Linked DNA regions of Homo sapiens: regions 1 and 2 are each linked to region 3. The links are contacts of gene promoters, found by promoter capture Hi-C in blood cells and fetal thymus (Javierre and others, 2016). All regions are on one chromosome and are shown on one strand. Each heading gives the region's core, a stretch centred on a gene start or on the middle of the fragment in contact. The rest is flanking DNA. Distances are from core to core; before and after follow the strand shown. Region 1 overlaps ROR1 (receptor tyrosine kinase like orphan receptor 1). Region 2 overlaps ROR1 (receptor tyrosine kinase like orphan receptor 1). Region 3 holds the start of ROR1 (receptor tyrosine kinase like orphan receptor 1).

Region 1 (4,232 bases), core at 1,435-3,934, 330 kb after region 3:
TGTATATGTACCACATTTTCTTTATCCAGTCTATCATTGATGGGCATTTGGGTTAGTTCCATGTCTTTGCTATTGTAAATAGTGCTGCAATAAACATATGTGTGCATGTGTCTTTATAGTAGAATATTTTATATTCCTTTGGGCATATACCCAGTAATGGGGCTGCTGGGTCAAATGTTATTTCTGGTTCTAGGTCCTTGAGGAATTGCTGTACTGTCTTCCACAATGGTTGAACTAATTTACGTTCCCATTAACAGTATAAAAGTGTTCCTATTTCTCCACAACCTCACTAGCATCTATTGTTTCTTGACTTTTTAATAATCGCCATTCTGACTGGTGTGAGATGGTATCTCATTGTGATTTTGATTTGCATTTCTCTAATGATCAGTGATATTGAGCTTTTTTCATGTTTCTTGGCCATGTAAATGTCTTCTTTTGAGAAGTGTCTGTTCATATTTTTCACCCACTTTTTGATGGGGTTATTTTTTTCTTGTCAATTTGTTTAAGTTCCTTATAGATGCTGGATATTAGACCTTTGTTGGATGGATAGATCGCAAAATTTTTCTCCCATTCTGTAGGTTGCCTGTTCACTCTGATGATAGCTTCTTTTGCTGTGCAGAAGCTCTTTAGTTTAATTACATCCCATTTGTCAATTATGGCTTTTGCTGCAATTGCTTTTGGCGTTTTCATTATGAAGTCTTTGCCCATGCCTATGTCCTGAATGGTATTGCCTAGGTTTTCTTCTAGGGTTTTTATGGTTTGGGGCTTTACATTTAAGTCTTTAATCCATCCTAAGTTAATTTTTGTATAAGGTATAAGGAAGGGTGATCCAGTTTCAGTTTTCTGCACGTGGCTAGACAGTTTTCCCAGAAACATTTAATGAATAGGAGATCATTTCCCGATCGCTTGTTTTTGTCAGGTTTGTCAAAGATCAGATGGTTTTAGATGTGTGGTGTTATTTCTGAGGTCTCTGTTCTGTTCCATTGGTCTATATGTTTGTTTTGGTACCAGTACCATGCTGTTTTGGTTACTGTAGCCTGTAGTATAGTTTGAAGTCAGGTAGCTTGATGCCTCCAGCTTTGTTCTTTTTGCTTAGGCTTGTCTTAGCTATACAGGGTCTTCTTTGATTCCATATGAAATTTAAAGTAGTTTTTTTTCTAATTCTGTGAAGAACGTCAATGGTAGCTTGATGAGGATAGCATTGAATCTATAAATTACGTTGGACAGTATGGCCATTTTCATGATATTGATTCTTCCTATCCATGAGGATGGAATGTTTTTCCATTTGTTTGTGTCCTCTCTTATTTCCTTGAGCAGTAGTTTGTAGTTCTCCTTGAAAAGGTCCTTCACATCCCTTGTTAGCTGTATTCCTAGGTATTTTATTCTCTTTGTAGCAATTGTGAATGGGACTTCATTCATGATTTGGCTCCCTGCTTGTCTATTGTTGGTGTAAAGGAATGCTTGTGATTTTAGCACATTGATTTTGTATCCTGAGACTTTGCTGAAGTTGCTCACCAGCTTAAGGAGTTTTTGGGGTGAGATGATGGGGTTTTCTAAATATACAATCATGTTGTCTGCAAATAGAGACAATTTGACTCTCTCTCTTCCTATTAGAATATGCTTTTTGTCTTTCTCTTGCCCGATTGCCCTGGCCAAAACTTCAATACTATGTTGAATAGAGTGGTGAGAAGAGGGCATCCTTACCTTGTACTAGTATTCAAAGGGAATGCTTCCAGCTTTTGCCCATTCAATATGATATTGGCTGTGGGTTTGTCATAAACAGCTCTTTTATTTTGAGATATGTTCCATCAATATCTAGTTTATTGAGTTTTTAACATGAAGGGATGTTGAATTTTATCAAAGGCCTTTTCTGCATCTACTGAGATAACCATGTGGTTTTTGTCTTTGGTTCTGTTTATGTGACGGATTATGTTTATTGATTTGCATATGCTGAGCCAGCTTTGCATCCCAGGGATGAAGCCAGCTTGATCGTGATGGATAAGTTTTTTGATGTGCGGGTAATAAATTCTTAGCACACGGGTACAGTCTTTTGTTTCACTTTGTTTTCCTCGTTATTCTGTAAACCTGCCAGTTTATGCACGTCAAAGGTCTAGAAGACCTTGCCAGTTCCTCTGTCCAGAGTCCCCACCCTGCCACTGAGGAGTAGCATGCAGTTTCACAAGTCGTGTTACCCCAAGAGCTTCGGTTTCCTCATCTGTAAAACAAGGATGATAACACTTTCCTCACATGATTGTTGAAATGATCATAGAGTAATAATAATAGTCAGAGGTACAATTTATTATGTGTGTTATGTACTGGGCGTTATATTAAGTGCTCTACACGTATTATCTCATTTAATTTTTAGAATAACCTTTTCAGTAGTTGTTGCCCCCATTTTGCAGACGACAAAAGTGAGGCACTGAGAGGTTGTGTAATTTACTTGAGTGCAGGTGGTCAGTAAGTAGCAGAGCCAGCATTTGAACTTAGAATGTCTGGCTCTAAGCCTCAGACTCTCTTAACCACAAAGCTCTCTGTCAAGTGCTATACAAATGTGAGAATTATTATGAGCAATGATAGCTAGTTTAGGTGATTAAAAAGCTTTATGTGCTTCAGAGAGTTTTCACAGGGTAATCATCATAAATTCCTTTTTCATCGTCTTTGCTGTTCCATCCTTGTGATCATTATGCAGTACCTATTATGTTTCACCTTTGTGTTTTTTTCTTTCTTTTCACAAGTTTAAATAAGGGAACTAGGGGTCTTTTTTTTAAGTCAAGCTTTGTTAATAGATTTTCAGAATGCACATTAAAGTGCCAGAAATTGAGTGCTTTTCTGATTAGTAAAGATTGTATTGGTTTTTTTTTTTAACAATTCACTTTTTAGATTTCTATTTTAAGCCCACTTAGAGCTGATTACAATAACCCCTATTTATAAATAGAATTTTACTGGGCCTCACCTCTGACGTATTTTCAAATTCAGTCTCACTCACTCTAAGTAAAATAATCATTCATCAAGTGAAGGTAGGGTAGAATAAGAGCATATTTCTGCAGCTACCTCTGTGTTCTGAGGGAGCCAGCCATAAATATTCAGCATCGGTGGTCAGAGTTTGGCTCTGCATTAAATCATAATCATTTTACTGGTGAATAAATGACATGTTTAATTATTTTATATGGATGTATAAATTTTGGTCTTGATCTGGGCAGCATATTTTTAACATCTGGATTTTTTTGTTTTCTTGTTGTGTGTGTGTGTGTGTGTGTGTGTGTGTGTGTGTGTGTTTAAATCACTGTTTAGGCTGGGCATGGTGGCTCATGCCTGTAATCTCAGCACTTTGGGAGACCAAGGTGGGTGGATGGCCTGAGGTCAGGAGTTCAAGACCAGCCTAGCCAACATGGTGAAACCCCATCTCTACTAAAAATACAAAAATTAGCCAGGCATGGTGGTACATGCCTGTAATCCCAGCTACTAGGGAGGCTAAGCCAGGATAATCACTTGAACCTGGGAGGCAGAGGTTGCAGTGAGCCGAGATCACACCACTTTACTCCAGCATGGGCGACAGAGTGAGACTCCATCTAAAAAAAAAAAAAAAAAAAAAAAAAAAAAAAAAAAAAATCACTGTTTAGCTTTAAGTGCTAGGACACAAAATGTGAAGTCACTGTGGTCTTTAAAAATCTCAATTAACCAGAACATTCAAATTGCTGGGTGTATTCAACACTCCACTTCTGGGATAAAGAGTTAAGTGACAAGGGCAGAGCTGGCCGTGGGAATCACTATGGGGCTCCCAGTGCCTAGGCAAGTCAGGTTGAGTGAGCCTCCACTCCACCCATCACATAACACACACACACACCAATACAACATTCTACAACAAAAAGTTAGCAAAAGAGTGTTCAGCAATGACAGTCTAAAATGGAAAAGTCAGAGAGATGAAGTCTCAAAGGGACATTCTGTATTCTGGAGATTATGTGTAGAGAGATACAGAAGAAAGTCATTTGGCAACAAGTTTCAACAAGCTTCTGTTATATGGGTCACCCTTACAGGGTCGTAAGCATCCCTTGGGGGATTGTTAAAAATAATGTTTAGGACCCTGTCCTAGTCCTACTAAATCCAAATCTCCAGAAAACCCAGGGAAAATGATTTATTTAAAGGGCCACAGGTATCTTGGACACACCCCAGAGCTACTGAATCACAGTCTCTAGAGCTTGGGCCAGGAATCGGAATGCAAAAGAAGCTCCACA
Region 2 (4,220 bases), core at 603-3,102, 300 kb after region 3:
CTGCCAGTTCCCTGACAGCCTGATTTCCCATGTATTGTGTACCAGATGAGACATAAGGGATTGTGAAGGCAAATGAAAAGCAGGATATTGTTTACTGGGGCCAATATAAATATGTTTGTGGGGAGAGGAGAACAAAGACCTCAAAGCCTGTTGTTGACAGAAACCACGCTAGTGTTTAATACATGACGTCATCCTAGTAAAAATAATAGTTCCCACAGGTCTGCCAGGGAATGGGAGAGCCGGGGTTATCTGTACCCACACATGCCAGGAACCTCAGGGGTGCTGGCAACTGGTATATGATCCTGACCCAGCTTCCAACTAGCTCCATGGCATGTCTGAGGGAGGGGCTTCGTGGATAGTATCCTACTCTGAGTTCCAAACACACAGATCCCAACGTCTGGATTCCACCTCTGCTAGACACCAGCTTGTAGCAGAGACCTTAGCTGGGAGCCTGGTTTTTCCCAAATGTAAATTCAGATAAGAATTCAACCCCTACTAGAGTAGTTGTGATGAAAAAACAAGATAAATAAAATAAACAAGATTTAAAGGAAATGCTAACTGCAAGAGAGCCTTTGGTATTCATGGTAGCCTCACCCACTTCTGTGTGCTCCTCTCTCACCTATGCAGAAGCATTGAAATTCCAGGCTTCATCTCCAGTCTCACCACCCTGAACCCCTACTTTGCTTAGCTTCCCTCCTCTATGTAAATTTGTTTTATTTATTTAGGCCTTTTGTAAGGTGTGTGAAGGTATCTGGGCTAAGAGAGTGGAAGGTCAGTGAACCCCTGAGAAAATACTAGCCACTTGGGGGTCCTCATTCTTGCCCAATCAGTCAGAAGATCCAACTACTCCTCTGTGTGCCCCTTCCTGCTCCATGTGCTCCTTTATTTTACCCATTTTTCTCCATGGTAAATGCAAGTGTAAGGCTTTGAAGGCACAGGGGAGCCTCTACAAGCCCTGAGTGGAAATTCGCAGCCAGTATGTGAAAGCATGACTTCAATTTTTTGAAGACTGGGCCCTAAGAACTGGACATGATGAAGCTTACCAGTTTGCCAATCTTCACCTTCTGTTTTCTTCCCCTGAGAGTTTCCACTAGAAATTCCCCAGCTTTGGTTTGAGTGCTTGGCTCTGTAATCTTGGAGACACTCTGCATACACCCCACAATTAAGACATCGCAACTCCATGCAATGTTTCTTCAGAGAAAGTTAGATGCAATTAGATCATTTGAAGATGGATTAGCCTGCCATCTGCACAATATTAAGAAAAATCATGTTGGCAAATGATGGGGCCTCTTTGAAGAGCTCTGAAGGAAAGCCACTAATGGGCTCTACACTGGGTTTCCCCCCTGTTCCCGAAGGGTTAACACAATGTGTGGGAAAGGAAAAAAAAATCCCCTGTGGCATTAAAATGCTGTGTCAGAGATTTGTAAGCTCCCCTTTGTAGCTCTGCCCTGGGGCCTGGCTCACTTCAGTGGAGATGAGGTTAATAAGACCTCTGTTGCTGCTTGGCAGTTCTTAACGGGGTTACAGTCTGGTGCCTGACCAGTGAAGGACAGTTATTATTAAAGTGCTGAGGAATTTAATTCAATAAGGTCAGGGACATCTGCTGTGCTTGCTTGCCCAATGTCCATTTATTCTTCTTTTTACAAGAACTGCTTGCTTTTCCTTTGCGGAAAACCACCTCATGCCCATTCTGTCTAGGTGGAGCTGACCCTTACCTAAATCAGGGTGGCCACATGACCAAGCCAGCCCAGTTAGTGTATTTGGGTATCCAACCGTGCCCCAAAGTCACTGGACTTGTCAGTTACATAAGCCTATAAACACCTTTACCCCTCAACCCTCATTTTTCTTTTTCAGCTTCTGCAAGGTGGAGTAGCTACATTAACTATTTAAGGGATTAAATGGCATGAAGTATAATTAGATAGAAACTAAACTCTGTGGGAAGTCAAGAGAGGGAGAGGTTGATGTGGGTGGGTGGGCTTCCTGGCAGAGGCTGAACTTGAACTGATCTTAAAGGATGGAGAGGATTAGGTGAGACCAAGAGAATGCAGAACTCTGTGCAAGGCACAGAGGGAGGGAGAACTCAGTTAAAATGAAGATCTGTGGACAAGAAATGAAAAGTGGGTTTTGACAAATAGAGGCAGGGAAAATGCCAGAGGACTTGGAATCCCAGGATGAGAAGTTTGAACTTACCTGGATAGTTCCCCAGTGTGGACTTATGTATGGGTGGGGAAAATCCACACCAGATTGTGCTACCAGTTTGGGCAAGTATATGACTCTATGCCTTACCTGTGTTAGAGACTGGCACAGGTGCAGGCAGGGCACTAACCTTGGCTCCGCCACTTAATAACTGAGCAACAATGGGGGAGTTACTTAACCTCCAAATCTCAATTTTTTTCCATCTGCACAATGAAGATAAATAATAACCTGACATTCAGTGTTTGTGAGGATAAAATGAGATAACCTACGTGGGAGCCCTTAGGATAGTACCTGGCACATGATAATAATAGTAGATAATATCTGTTGAGTGCTTATTAGTGTTCCCGAGGCACTGTGCTAAGCTCCTGACATACCTTATCTCATTTAATCCTCCCAATAGCCAGTGCTTTAAAAATGTTGGCTGAATCCGATTTGGGGTAACCTTGTCATTCCTGTGCTTGATCAAACAATAAGCTTATCAGACATTTACTGTCCAATGAGAGCTGAATACATAATCTGAATATTCAAGTTCTAATTTCTTAATACACACCCTAAAATGTTTTAAATTTAATAAAATTACACTTCAGAACATCTAGAGAATAGAGTAAAAAAAATGTACATATAACTTCACTAACCACAACAGAACCATGTTTTTCTAATATAGAGGGGGTTAAGATTATCTGCTTTTAGGCCCACCAGATCACCACAGTGTGATCTGGGGCAAGTTACTTTATCTTCTCTCAGCCTTAGTTTCCTCATCTGTCCTTATACGATGTTTCTAGAAGCTTCTTCATAGGGGTTTTTTGTTTTGTTTTTGGCAAGGTTTAAGAGTGATAATTCATGCTGTATGGAGCATCTGACACATAATACACCATCAATGTTAGCTCCTATGAATGCCTCCAGTCACTGTCCTATACATTTTCCCTGTGATTGCAATAACCGTGTATATGCAGTTGCATCCTTATTTTTTCACTTAACACTGTATCTCAGGCATCTTTATAAGTAACAAGATCTCCCTGTCCCTCATTCCTAATGTATATGTTCTCCTAAAATCACTTTAAGTGTATCAACTTGCTCTTGCTTCATCTTTTAAAAACATGTATAAGTAATGCTACACTCCACACCTTTACGCTTAATGGCTCTAAGAGTTCACGTTTCAGTGCACCATCTCTTTGAGTTCAAATTATGGTTCTGCCCACACCTTTTCAGAATGTGGTGAGAATGAATGACACCCAAGTCAGGAAAGGCCTTTGACAAATTGCAGATTATGCTGGCTTGATAAGTGACCACAGGAAAGTATGATTGTCACTTTTCCAGCAGTGGGTTTCCTCCAGTGTGATATTCTGTGCCTCACCTATCAAGAGGTGTTACTGTGGGTCTTCCTGTCAGCTCAGTTCTCCTACCCTTCTTGCTGACAGAGGAAGAAGAATCCCACTACCTTTTAGCTGGAGGTTATTCTCCTGATCTCACTGAATCTTATTTCTTGGAGTAGCAAGGAATCTGCAAAACAATTTGAGGCTGTCTTTCTGTTGCAAATCAAAGCCCCAACCTCTTATTTGGGTCTTAGAGCAAGAGTTCCCCAAGTACTTTGAAATTGGACCCTTCTGTACACACCTGGAGTCACCAGTAAGCCTTGCCCATAGATTCCCTGGTGGATGGACACACAAAGCTAAGGGCAAAGGTGACCTTTTCATTTCTTCTTCAGGTCCTACAATGCCTTTGAAATCTTTATGATCTGCACCTTCAGGGATTATACAAACAGCTTGAGGAAATCCTAAAATTGTGTTTTCTCCAGATAAGCATCCAGGTCAAAGGAAAGACCTCTGCATGCCTTCCTGATAGAAAGAAACTTGCCTCAATTTAGAGAATGCCACCAAGAACAAAATTGGCATGCAGCCATTTGTGCAGTGCATTAAAAACCAGTTTACAAATAGTGGTACAATTCTGGAAGTGTCAGACCTCATAGTGTGGTGTAGTGGAAGTCCACAGACTATTTACCATATTTCAAATGTCTTACTGTTTTT
Region 3 (4,396 bases), core at 1,149-3,648:
ATTGCTAACCTTTTCTTTGGAAACTTGTGTGCTATAGCTAAACTGAAGGAATCTGGGATGATTTGATGATGGTCCTTACCCAGGTCTGGACTGGTAGGTCTAGGTCCTAGTTTTGGCTCTGGCCAGCTTTGGGCAAGGCGGTTTCACTCTCCTAAGTCCCACATGTCTCCTGTATAAAATGTTGAGGGGGGTGTACTAGTTAATTTCCAAAGCCCTTTCCAGGTCTCACATTCCTTATGTCTATGATTCTGTGATTAAGTTCCTGGAAGTTTAAGTACTGATAAAAGTGCCATTAAGTTCTGTATACTCAGCACTAGCAGCTGTCTGTTACCTAAGATACCTGGGCCTAGGAGTTATAGGGTGGGGGCTGGGGGCAGGGTGGGTGGATGAGAAAGGCTCCTTGTCTGACAACTGTGTGTATTGACTGTAGACAACAGAGGACTGCCCAGCACTGTGCAGTGTAACTGAGTATCCTCTGATTTCTGGGCTGTGATATACTAAGACTGACCATCAAAGACTGTTTCCCAACAAGAGAACCTTGTGCAGTAAGTTCCTCAGGCAAGAAGCGAGATAATTGGGACAGGATTGAATAGATCTCAGGCAGAGAAACTTGGGGGACAGATCAATGTAGGTAATGAACTGGTTGACCCAAGGCCTCTCTGTCTATCATTTTTTGACCTCAGGTCAGAGCGATAGAAAGGGGGAAAACTACCGACACAGCTCCTGCCATGAAGTCCTGGAGAAGAATAAGTGACTGTTTGTCCCGCATGGGTTAGTCATTCACCTGCCTGAAGGCAAAGGGCTGGGAGTCTGGAGTCCATGACCTGCTGGGACATACTTTGGGCTGCATTTTTTCCCCCTTCTAATGTCTCAGCTCTCAGGGATCTGCTTTTCCTGGTGCCAAGGAGTATGGATGAAATTTTGTCCCTCCTCCATGCACCCCTATAAAACAAATATGATGAGAAATTAATATTTTCCAAATGGTGACCTAACCTTTGTTCATTAATTGAGCTCCTATTGCATTCCAGGTACTGTTAGAGGCCAGCAAGATACCTAGATGATTGAGACAGAGTCCTCGCCCTCCATGAAGTGACTGTTCATTTTAAAACCCTAAAGCTGGGTTCTTAGAGGCTACTGCAACAGCAACAACTCCCGAGTGAGTGCTTATCATGTGCCAGGCTCTGGTTACAGGCTTTAACTCTCTCAGTGGAAACAGCCTGAGTGCTGGCTTGGCTACCCCATGTCTGTGAGACTGTGGGCAAGTCATTTACTTTCCCTTTGAGTTTCAATTTCTAAAACTGTAATATGGGGATAATATATGTAAAACAGCTAAGAAGTATATACTTTTAATGACTCTTTTTAGTGTCAATGGAGGATTTGTGAGCAAATGCATATAAAACACAAGGCAAACAGGAGGTATTTAGTAAGTGGCCACGTGATTATTGAGAGACTATGGGCTTCTTCCTGTTCCTCCAGAGCAAGACTGACAGGTGTCCTATTACCCTTGCATCTTCAGAGCCTAGAGCACAGCCCTGAAAACAGCAGGCGCTCACCACTTTTTATGATCAAAGGCAGTCTCTACAGGGAAAGTCAAATCATTATGGGTATTTATGAATTACAAAATCCATAAAGTTAAACCAGGAGAAATGGACAAAAACACACTCATTGTAGAGGTCTTTAATGATCCCTTGGCTCATGGCAGAGCAGCTAGACAAAAAACAAACAAACAAACAAACATGCAAAGATTCAGAAGGCCTGAAAAAATAATGAATACAAAGAAGATAAATCGATACAGTATTCTATCTTCACATTCGGAAGACAAAAACACCTTTCAAAAAACCATGGGACATTGGCAAAAATAACCACAGATAATCCTCAATAAATCTTGCCAGGAGGCAGTACAGATGACATTGAATTCAGTGAGACTACAAATTAAAGACAAAAAGGCGAAGTATAAATTACTTGTGTAAGAACTCTCTCAACTCTTGGGTCCAAGAAGAAAGCAAAAGGGAAATTGTATGATAGCAATAAATGTGCCATTACCCAGAGTCACACAGCTAACAGTGACACAGCTGAGGCTGCTAGAACCTGGGTCTACTGTCGTCCAGCCACGAACTGGCTTGAGATCCCGGATAAGTCTCTCTGAGCCTCGGTTTCCCCTTCTGTCAAGTAGCCTCGAAGGTCCCCGGCGCTCGGTTCGGTGGCGAGTTTGAGGAGTGTGGGGGAGGGGAGGGGAGGGAGCGTGCCCGAGACGCGGGAGCCGCGACCGCTTTCTGCGAAGTCGGGGAGGGTGCGGGCGTTGAGAGGCTGCAGCAGAGGGCGCTGGGTCGCCAGCCTGGGCCGCGTCTCCCATTGGTCGGGGCTGGGGCGCTGGGCTGGAGAGTTGGTGGAAAGTGACAAGTTGAGCGAGAGAGGGAGCGTGGAGAGCTGGAGCAGCCGCCACCGCCGCCGCCGAGGGAGCCCCGGGACGGCAGCCCCTGGGCGCAGGGTGCGCTGTTCTCGGAGTCCGACCCAGGGCGACTCACGCCCACTGGTGCGACCCGGACAGCCTGGGACTGACCCGCCGGCCCAGGCGAGGCTGCAGCCAGAGGGCTGGGAAGGGATCGCGCTCGCGGCATCCAGAGGCGGCCAGGCGGAGGCGAGGGAGCAGGTTAGAGGGACAAAGAGCTTTGCAGACGTCCCCGGCGTCCTGCGAGCGCCAGCGGCCGGGACGAGGCGGCCGGGAGCCCGGGAAGAGCCCGTGGATGTTCTGCGCGCGGCCTGGGAGCCGCCGCCGCCGCCGCCTCAGCGAGAGGAGGAATGCACCGGCCGCGCCGCCGCGGGACGCGCCCGCCGCTCCTGGCGCTGCTGGCCGCGCTGCTGCTGGCCGCACGCGGGGCTGCTGCCCAAGGTAAGAGGCGCCCGCCGGCCCCCGCCCGCCCAGACCCCCTGACCCGTGGCCACCCTTCCGCCGTCCAGCCGGGCGCGGGACACGCAGGAAGCGCCGCGCTGGCTCCGGGGCGCGTCCGGCCACCCGCCACGGGGCTCGCCGGCGCCGCCAGGCCAGGGTTTGCCCCGGAGCCCCGCCAGGCCAGGGTTTGCCCCGGAGCCCCGCGGCGGGCCGGGGCGCGCCCAGGGACTCGTTCCTCGGTGCGCAGCAGCGATTGTCAGCGCTGACAGGAAGCGTGGAGGGGTTTGAGGGTCCTGGGGGTGATCGGGGCACTTCTGTGCAGGGCGTCCCCCCTTGTCTCCCTGGACCTCTAGCGCGCCCCAGCCGGTGTTCAGGCAAGTCTATCCTGCCCCCAAGTTGCGAGCCGGCCCGGAAGGCGCGGTCCAGGAGGGAGTTTGGATTTTCAGTGGTGCTCGCCAGAGCCCAGGCGGCTCGCGGATCGACGCAAACAAAAGCCCTGTCCTCCTGGGGCTCCGGCGGCCTCGCATCGCCACCGCCCCCGGCCCTCCGGCCCTCCCGAGAGTCATCATAGAGGCCAAAACTTGTGCGCCGCTGCAGCCGCTGCCACTTTGTGCAAAATGTGCTGTCAGAGGCGGCCTGCGGCTCCAAAGTGCTTTGGGTGTGCACGCGCGCGCGCGCGCGTGTGTGTGTGCGTGTTACAAACAAGAGGGGGAAAAGCCATCTAATGCATATTTGATTTTGGTAATCTCTAAAGACAATCGCAACAGTTAGAGAAAGACTTCACCGCAAGCCGGAGCGTCTTAGTTCGCTGCGGGAAGCTGGGGTCCTTGCTGCGTCTGAGCCGGTACACAATGAGAGGGAAGAGCCCGGCTGAGCCTGTGGAGACAACCGATTCATTCTTTGGAGGTTGGAGGGGGAAAGTTGATTAAAGTCTCCGGGGTCTCGGGCCTCACTTTTAACATGCATCCCTTGAGGGGGTGAGGAGCCTTTGGATTCTGCCCTCCCCCACTCCCAGCCCTAAACCTGAGCGGATAAATAGATCTCTGCTCTTTTATCATGCATCTTTCATTTTTAAGTTAGCACTGTGTTTAGGAAAAGAAAAAGTTCTGCGCTACTTAGCAGTTGAGAGGAAAAAGATGTATTCACTACATAGACTACGAATGCAGAATTAGTTTTTACTAAAAGTTAGCTGACTTTCTTGGTAGAAAACACACTCTGGAAGGAAGTTGTGTGAAATTTTGATTTCTTAGAGATGGTTTTTGGAAGCTAGAGTAGCATTTTCTGAGGATGATTTCTGAAACGGATCCTATAATGTGGTCGTGCTAATCTGAAAGCTCCTGGGGGTAAATAGAGCTCCTAATTGTAATTAAGATGTGCATCAGCAGGGAGTGCACCTTCCTGATGAAAAATCCTAATGAAATGTAAACAGCTTGGTCACATAGATGTTTTGCTTGGTGATGCCAAACATCTGGCCTTGCGCCACAACACCTGGGTGAAAAGTAAAAA

What was found. Contacts are between HindIII fragments. The CHiCAGO score rates a contact against its expected background, and 5 or more counts as called.
Region 1: a fragment that was not itself captured here is called in contact with the fragment with the promoter of ROR1 in region 3 in 5 of 17 cell types (naive B cells, megakaryocytes, endothelial precursors and 2 more); the score reaches 6.6 in naive B cells.
Region 2: a fragment that was not itself captured here is called in contact with the fragment with the promoter of ROR1 in region 3 in 1 of 17 cell types (endothelial precursors); the score reaches 5.2 in endothelial precursors.

What each region holds. Positions count from the first base shown.
Region 1 is chr1:64,104,825-64,109,056 of GRCh38, forward strand. All of the region lies in intron 4 of ROR1 (receptor tyrosine kinase like orphan receptor 1), which reads left to right. ROR1-AS1 (ROR1 antisense RNA 1) reads right to left here. Exons shown (of 6, transcript NR_110666.1): 5 at 3,496-3,569. Among named protein-coding and RNA genes, the nearest start is that of ROR1-AS1, 5.3 kb to the right of the region's middle. The HindIII fragment of the contact is 176 bases long and covers 2,597-2,772 here.
Region 2 is chr1:64,072,457-64,076,676 of GRCh38, forward strand. All of the region lies in intron 4 of ROR1 (receptor tyrosine kinase like orphan receptor 1), which reads left to right. Among named protein-coding and RNA genes, the nearest start is that of ROR1-AS1, 38 kb to the right of the region's middle. The HindIII fragment of the contact is 1,632 bases long and covers 1,037-2,668 here.
Region 3 is chr1:63,771,619-63,776,014 of GRCh38, forward strand. ROR1 (receptor tyrosine kinase like orphan receptor 1) reads left to right here and starts at 2,399. Exons shown (of 9, transcript NM_005012.4): 1 at 2,399-2,890. The coding sequence starts at 2,800. RefSeq lists silencers at 2,466-2,515, 3,300-3,594 and an enhancer at 3,460-4,023. The HindIII fragment of the contact is 6,004 bases long and covers 1-4,396 here.